2 separate regions of the Homo sapiens genome follow, and region 2 is linked to region 1. The links are contacts of gene promoters, found by promoter capture Hi-C in human tissues and cell types (Jung and others, 2019). All regions are on one chromosome and are shown on one strand. Each heading gives the region's core, a stretch centred on a gene start or on the middle of the fragment in contact. The rest is flanking DNA. Distances are from core to core; before and after follow the strand shown. Region 1 holds the start of XKR6 (XK related 6). Region 2 overlaps LINC00529 (long intergenic non-protein coding RNA 529).

What was found. The method cuts DNA at HindIII sites, captures the fragments that hold promoters and counts their contacts. A contact is called where the count stands out against the background at its distance.
Region 2: a fragment that was not itself captured here is called in contact with the fragment with the promoter of XKR6 in region 1 in 1 of the 25 tissues and cell types used here (mesendoderm cells).

What each region holds. Positions count from the first base shown.
Region 1 is chr8:11,199,888-11,203,956 of GRCh38, reverse strand. XKR6 (XK related 6) reads left to right here and starts at 2,124. Exons shown (of 3, transcript NM_173683.4): 1 at 2,124-3,381. The coding sequence starts at 2,618. RefSeq lists silencers at 2,361-2,530, 2,611-2,970, 3,171-3,640. The HindIII fragment of the contact is 3,836 bases long and covers 505-4,069 here.
Region 2 is chr8:11,245,686-11,249,754 of GRCh38, reverse strand. LINC00529 (long intergenic non-protein coding RNA 529) reads left to right here. Exons shown (of 5, transcript NR_170283.1): 5 at 1,966-2,491. Among named protein-coding and RNA genes, the nearest start is that of LINC00529, 36 kb to the left of the region's middle. The HindIII fragment of the contact is 4,309 bases long and covers 1-3,959 here.

The DNA of each region.
Region 1 (4,069 bases), core at 875-3,374:
AAACAGCAAATGTAAAGTTGAAGTCACTTGACAGTCTGAGAATCTTACATATCTACTTGAAACTTCAATTGTAATAAACACTTTTGACTCATAAGCTCATTTGTCAGCCTTATATAGCGAGTGTAATTTACTTAGCTAATTTCACTAGTTTATGTTCTTTCAGGGCACACAGAAATAGGAATCATAAATACACCATTACTGCCCGCTTTTGTATCTCATTTCACAGCCTCGTAGCTTAAATAGAGAAAATATATTTGAAAGCACAAATTAATTGCACCTATTTTCTAGAAGTATTTCAAAATGCTTTCTTTTATTAGAGATACCAAATACACTCAGCGATAGAATTTAAGTAGAAACATGTCAGTATTATGCAAACATAATAATAACAACAGTAATAATAATAGCAGTTACTCTCTAGTGCTTAGCTGCCTATCAGGTATCATATTGAGATCCTTGAAAGGATTACCACCTTTACTCTGCCCAGCAACTTTTCAGAAAAGTCACTGTTGTTATTTCTATTATATCAAGGTGAAAACTGAGATTTGAAGAGGTAATCTTGCTCACATTATTCATGTTACTATTTTAGTGAAATTGGGGTTCATACCTGGGCAATCCTACTCTATATTTATGCCATGTAAGGTGTTATTCATTCAAATTCAGCAAAGAAACAGAATCCCATCTATATGCAGAAATAATCTTTACCTGCTGGCCTTAAGTTTTACTACCATAGGGAGTATGAGGCTTACATATGAGTATGAGTTTTACATACCATAGGGAGTATGAGGCTTAAATCATAGCATGAAATACATGGATACAGTTATATGGCTGGTTTCTAAAAGTTGATTTTGGAATCACTCCCCTCTTCCCAATGTATGGGAGTAAAAATTCACTATTAGTAATTTTTCTAAAGTCTTCAGAGATTTCACACTGGCATATATACTCATGAAAAGCTGTGTCCTAAAATGTAGTATCCCCATCTACCCTGCCACTCCCAAAACTCATAGGTGCCATAGTATTCAATAGTATCAAAGTAACTATTGAAGTTGTCAAACGCACCTTTCTGCCATAGAACCTCCAGCCATATAAATATTACCTAATTTGTACTCTTAACATTCTAAAGACAGTTATTGGCATTATTAGAAGACTTTAGTGAATGGAGAAGTAGACAGAATCACAAAAATGAGTTCAAAAATCTAGGGAAGTCAATGAGAAAATTCAGGGATTTTTTTCCCCCTCATTCTTTTTTTTAACTGTAAAATGTTCATTTCATCTGATCAGGAACAACTGTAACCATGTAGCTTGCCCTATTTTGGCTATCTGGCTTCAAAAATACTTTCACTGGAAGATCATTGTAATTCAAATCCATTCAGTGCTGTTTCACTTTTGTAATTTGTTAGCTAAGTTTAAGTAGTGTATCCTGCACCTACTTTAATGATATAGCACATTGATAACATTTTTTTCCTTATTTAAAGCAATGTTTACCCACAGCGCCTTAGCACCAAAAAAATTCTAAAAGGCACTCCTTACACATTTAAATAACCTGAACAAATAATTGATACAGGTTAAGCCCTGGCTAGTTCTGCATTTTCCAAATTAAGATCACAGAATTTAAAAATTGCATATTAAAAAAAAAGTTGGTAGAATATATTTCCATAGGGCAGAAAATATATTCAAGGTCACAATATGCCCATTCATTCCTTGCTCCAACATGTAAGACCCAACCAGGCTGATTTCCAATTGAATTTTGCCTGAAGCTTTTTTAAGGTAATGATGGAAACTTTATTACAAAAGGTGGTTAAGTTGTCAGTGACAGGAAAATCAGGAGGTCAACAGAGGTAAGAGGAGAGGTGTCTAAATGGAAGTGAGAATCAGTAACTTGATTGTGAAAATCTGACTTATGTAATTTTTAAAGACCCTCAAAATAAGAGAAGAATAAGAGAAATTTAAAAGAAAATAGAAACAGCCAAAGAGGTGAGACATAGACATTTTGATTGGGGGGGGGTGTTGTCTAACTACACAATGAGGTCATCCCATCTCCCGGAAGTGACACGTAATCACCTGCTTTGCACTAGCTCCGCCCCTTCCCTCAGAGGTCCCGCCCCTCCACCAGCAGCCGGGAGGGTGTTAGGGGGCGTTTCTCCAGGAGGAAAGCTGTGAGCTGCGACGCTGAGGAAGGGGACCCCAAAACGTCTGGCACTGCCCCCTCCAGGGATCACTTTGGACCGCCTCACTCGGGCCAGCCGGATTCTGAAACGCCGAGGGGTCAACCTGATGGGTTTCGGGGTCAACGGAAGAGGGGAAGGGGAGCCCTGGCGGGGAGAACCCCCCGGTCCCCCGCCCAGCAGCTGAGGCACAGGAGGGCGGCCATCTTGGCCGGGAGGGTAGGGCTGGGGAGCTGCGGGCGCCGTGCGATTGGGGGGCTCGCCCGGAAGTGACGCCAACTACCCGGAAGCGGAGGGGGTTCCCTGGCCCACTCCCCCCTCGTTCGTTTGCTCCCCCGCTTCCTCCCCGCCCCCCTTCCTCTCCATTCGTTTCCCCCCCTCCCCGTTCCCTGCCTTCTTCCCCCCCCCCCCGCCGTCCCTCCCCCCCAACCTCCGGAGCTGGGAAGAGAGTCAAGATGGCGGCGAAATCCGATGGCGGTGGCGTGGGGGTGGGCTTCGCTCAGCTGCACAACCTGGACGAGGCGGTGGGCAGCGGCGGCGAGGAGGACGGGGAGCCCGGGGGAGGCGGCTGCGGCGGCGGCGGCGACGGCAGCGAGCCCGGCGAGAGCAGCTCGATGCACATCTGCCACTGCTGCAACACCTCCTCGTGCTACTGGGGCTGCCGCTCCGCCTGCCTGCGCTCCCTCCTGGGCAGGAAGCCGCGCCGCAGCGCCGCCGCCGACGGGGGGGACCAGCCGCTGCAGCCTCCCGCGGCCCCCGGCGCCGGCCGCCAACCCCCGACGCCCTCGGCCGCGCGGCCGGAGCCGCCGCCGCCGCAGGTGGAGCGGCCGTGGCTCGACTGCCTGTGGATCGTGCTGGCGCTGCTGGTGTTCTTCGGGGACGTGGGCACCGACCTGTGGCTGGCCCTCGACTACTACCGCAAGGGGGACTACGTCTACTTCGGGCTGACCCTCTTCTTCGTGCTGGTGCCGTCGCTGCTGGTGCAGAGCCTGAGCTTCCGCTGGTTCGTGCAGGACTACACGGGCGGCGGGCTGGGCGCCGTGGAGGGGCTCACCAGCCGGGGCCCCCCCATGATGGGGGCCGGCTACGTCCACGGCGCGGCCCGCGGTGGCCCAGGCGTGAGGGTCTCCCCCACGCCGGGGGCGCAGCGCCTGTGTCGCCTCTCCGTGTGGATCTGGCAGTCGGTCATCCACCTGCTGCAGATGGGGCAGGTGTGGAGGTAAGAGCACTGCGGGGTGGGGGCGGGCCGGCCCTGAGGAGCCCCCCTCCGCCCTCCCGGTGCTTCGCGGGGCGGCCCCTCGAAAGGGCCCAGCGCGGGGGGCTCGAAGGAGGGACCGGCCGCGCGCCGCCCCTGGCGTCTCCAAAAGACCGGCGTTTGATCTGGATCCCTGGCCACGCCTTTGGCCCGGGGAGGCCGAGACCTGCCGTTGGCCCGTCCTCGTCCCCGCTTCGCACTCGGCGGGGCTCTTGCCCCAACCTGCCCTCCCCGTCCCCTCTGCAGAGCTCCGTTCCCAAGCGTCCCTTTTCCCTGCCTCCCGAGGTAACCAGCTGCGGGCGCCCTGGGCTGCACCCCAGCTCGCGGCCCCGGGGAGCCTTCCCTCCTCCAGCCGCTGCATTCGGGTTTGTTCCCAGGTGAGACATCCTCCCCTCTTCCCCCGTTCTCCCTCTGCAGTGGCCTGCGTGGGGCCCTGTGGAAAAACCCTTGCTGCCGCCTCCGAGCACTCCTGGATTCCACGCCCCTTCCCCCTCCTGCACTCCCAGCCCCTGTGAATGACTCCAAACCACTGCTTTCCCAGAAGGAAAAAAGACTTTTTTTTTTTTTGGTTTGCTGGATTAGACGTGTCCTTTTCTTAGCGACAGGTAAAAATGGGATAAAATGTGATGGGCGCGAGCGTTTGGTGTTAACT
Region 2 (4,069 bases), core at 556-3,055, 46 kb before region 1:
AGTTTACCACAATTTTAATTTGAAAACTTAGAACTTAAAAAAGGAGGCCAGGCGTGGTGACTCACACCTGTAATCCCAGTGCTTTAGGGGGCTGAGGCGGGTGGATCACAAGGTCAGGAGATCGGGACCATTCTGGCTAACACGGTGAAACCCCGTCTCTACTAAAAATACAAAAATTAGCCAGGCGTGGTGGCGGGCACCTATAGTCCCAGCTACTTGGGAGGCTGAGGCAGAAGAATGGCATGGACCCGGGAGACAGAGCTTGCAGTGAGCCGAGATGGCGCCACTGGACTCCAGCCTGGACGACAGAGCAAGACTCTGTCTCTCCAAAAAAAAAAAAAAAAAAAAAAAAAGGATTTGGGCGTTGGGGGAAGAATAAGCTTACTTCTTTCTTTCTTTTTTTTCTTTCTTTCTTTCTTTTTTTTTCTTGAGCCAGAGTCTCGCTCTGTTGCCAGGCTGGAGTGCAGTGGTGTGATCTCAGCTCACTGCAACCTCTGACTCTCTGGTTCAAGCGATTCTCCTGCCTCAGCCTCCAGAGTATCCGGGACTACAGGCATGCGCCACCACGCCCAGCTAATTTTTGTATTTTTAGTAGAGATGGGGTTTCACCATCTTGGCCAGGATGGTTCTTGATTTCCTAACCTCGTGCTCCGCCTGCCTCAGCCTCCCAAAATGCTGGGATTACAGGCCTGAGCCACCACGCCCGGCCGATTGAGCTCATTTCTATACATGCCTGGAAGAATGCCTGGTGCTCCAAGATACAAAGAGGGCTGGCTCCTTGTATCATTAGCTGGGTGATGTTTTTGCAACTTGCTTGAAGTTACTGCAAGAATTAAAAATAAAGCAGACAGAACAGTTTGATTTGGTGTGTACTTCTACTCTTAATAAATGGTATGAATTGTTACTAGCTTGGTAGCTATTGGGGGAATGGAGTTGGCTATGTTTCTAGAAACATGTACTATGGATAGGAAAGAATGTTTTTGCTTTCTTTCATCCCTCTAATTTGGGGATGGGAATGTGAAACACTGCAACAATGCAAAGGAGAAGGGAATAGAAAAGTTGTCCATTTATTTTGCTGGATAATAACTGACCAAGTTCCATGGGAGGGTAGCTCATGCATTCTTGAAGCGTAGGTCTGTGTGTAATAACATGCATATATCATGGTGTGGTCATAGCCAGAACACACTCAAAGCAAGGCTTTCAATGGGGTTTCCCTTGCCTGAGCCTGCCCCTTCATCTAGGATACAGAGATTGAAACTTCCTCCCACTTGTAGACCAAAGTTGGTATTTGTAAAGTGCTCTGAGATCTTCCCAAATAGGGCCTCCTTAAATAAAAGGTCTCCAGGGGTGCAGGAGTGGAAGAGACAGGGCTTGGAGGGCTTAGGAGTCCAGGGGCAGTGTGTATGCTCAGGAGAGCAGCCAATCCCATCTGCCCACAACTAGGATTCTTCTCAGCGCATCACTGGGGGCTCTCCCAGGGCAGTCGGCCTTCCTTTCTTGGATGTGCAAAGCGACTTAGTTGGGATTTAAGACAAAAGTAGACCTAGAACAGTTGACACCTGGAGTGGAGAGTTTTTAACACCCTCCCCATACATCAAAATTATTTTTATAGTGATAATCATGCAATCATTAGCAATCATTATTTTCTTGAGTCAGTCTGTAGTTTCTTCATTTTTAAAAAATTGACCAGTTGAACAATCTCTAGTTTCAAAACACAATTGAAAGAAAGAGTACTTTTTCATTTGAATATTATTCAAATTTAGGAACGCATCACATATGAACTAAATTTGCAGTTTGCCAGTAAAAAATTGACCTCATGATTCTCTGCCTGTTTTGGTTTTAAAGTTTAAATACAAATTTAAAATTTTTTATCACATAAAATGACAAAAGTAAGATAACCCAAGGTCTACTCCTTTCATCATTACAATCACAGTTATTATGGTTTGTTTTGAATTTACTATTTAGATGTAGGGGTTGGAGACAGTTGTCGCTCAAGGTGCAAACTCCGGGCTGGCGCTGTGTGTGAACAGATAACAACAAAATGTATGTGGCTGAGTCCACTAGGAAGACGCTTCTGTACCACATGGAGTTCTCTGAATTAACTTCCAGATATATTAAAATTATTAATGGTAAGTAAGAAATGTATCAAATTGAAGCTTACATACATATTGCTAAGATGCCATCATGTCTGCAGAGATTATTTGGAACTTTGAACAACAAAAGATTTTTTTTTTTTTTTGCAGAACAGTATTTTATCACTGATGTTATTTAGAGTTGCTAGCACTTGGTGATATCACAAGCGAACTGACTTTTAGTCAGCTGTGTTATTGTGTTTAAATTCTCTACAAACATCCCTCATTGCCTGCCTCAGGGGCAGGCGGCCCCTGCAGCTCTGTCTTGTGTATGCAGCTGATTTAAAGCCATGGCAACATCACAGTTAACACTATCTATGCACCTGTAAGAAGTGTTTAATTAAAACTAACAGTCTTGAAGTTGAGCGTCTTTATTTTAGGTGTAGGACCTCTCAGGGGTGAAGAGGAAAGCAAATGGAGAGTCTGCCAAGTCTTTTTGCTGACACCAGTGCTTAGGATCTTGAGAGCATGTTTTACAAATTGGGTGTTTGGGGCAGGGGGAGTCTGGACAACAGTTTTTCCAAGTTTCAGGCTAGTGTTTGGCACCCTCTAGTGGAAAATTTGAAAAGAGAATGATCCGATACTGTATAAAAAATGAATAGTTTATCATATAGCTTATTCATCCTTTATTAAGTACCATGCACTGAGCTAAGTCCTTTGTGTGCAATATCTAATCCTTACAACTACCTATACATTAGGAATATGAGGTCAGCGTTACTAATTATAGAATAAGCTCAGAGAGGTCAAGTAAATTGACCACAGCCACACAGCAAGGGGTGGAGCTGCTTGTCTTTCCTCTCTCCAGAGACATATGGAGTGAGCATACTTGGCATATGTAGCACAATATTTCAAGCTCCTGACCCCCATGGACACACTACCAGCTCCACACCTCAGAGCCTGGGGGCTCGAGGAGTGCCCACCCTGAACCATACTTCCAGAATTATAGTTACTTGCACAATTCTGATTGTAAGATCTAAAAGTAATTTTTTTTTTATTTTTCCCTTAAAGCTTGTGATTTGCCCTCAAAAGTAAATGCCTTGGCTTGGTTTGCCATATTTCCTTCTTAGATTCATGTTCCTTTGTGTCTTATGTTCTGGTCAGGTCACGGCAATGGCCTGCGATAGTAACTCCCAGACTTTAAATCTCATTGGCAATCTCCTTTACCTGTGACACCCCAGAGATCTTAGAATCGAAGTGAGCTCGTTCTGGGAGTGCTTTGGGAGTTATCCAATTTAGTGGTTTGTCATCATGGATCTCTTGAAAATCTTTGAAGGAAGTTTTGGTTGCCATGATGATTGGAGGGCACTAGTGATGTTTAGTCGGGAGGACACTGGATATCCTGCAATGCTCAGGACAGGTCACACAAGGAGAAATTGACCCAGGACTGGTAAGACTTTCCATCATCCTACCGGACATGCTGAGACAGAAGGCAGGCTTCAACTTGTGGTGGGATTTCAAGTTCAGAGACACATTTGCTGTGATGTGTCATTATTACTGCCACATCCCATGTCGTAACAGCAGCCCCTTTGGGGTAAGCAACGTGTGTTCATCCATTCTCACACTGCTATAAAGAACTACCTGAGACTGGTAATTTACGAAGAAAACAGGTTTAATTGACTCACAGTTCTGCAGACTTAACAGGAAGCGTGGGTAGGAGGCCTCAGGAAACTTATAATCATGGTGGAAGGTGAAGGGGAAGCAAACAAGTCTTTTAAACCATCAGATCTTGTGAGAACTCACTATGGTGAGAACAGCAAGGGGGAAACCCACCCCCACGATCCAATCACCTCCCATCAGGTTCCTACCCAAACATGTGGGGATTACAATTTGACATGAGACTTAGTGGGGATACAGAGCCAAACCATATCACAAGGCCCAAGTGTCAAAGCATGAGAATTCAGAAAGTAAAAGACATGGTTAATATACTGCCCAAGTAT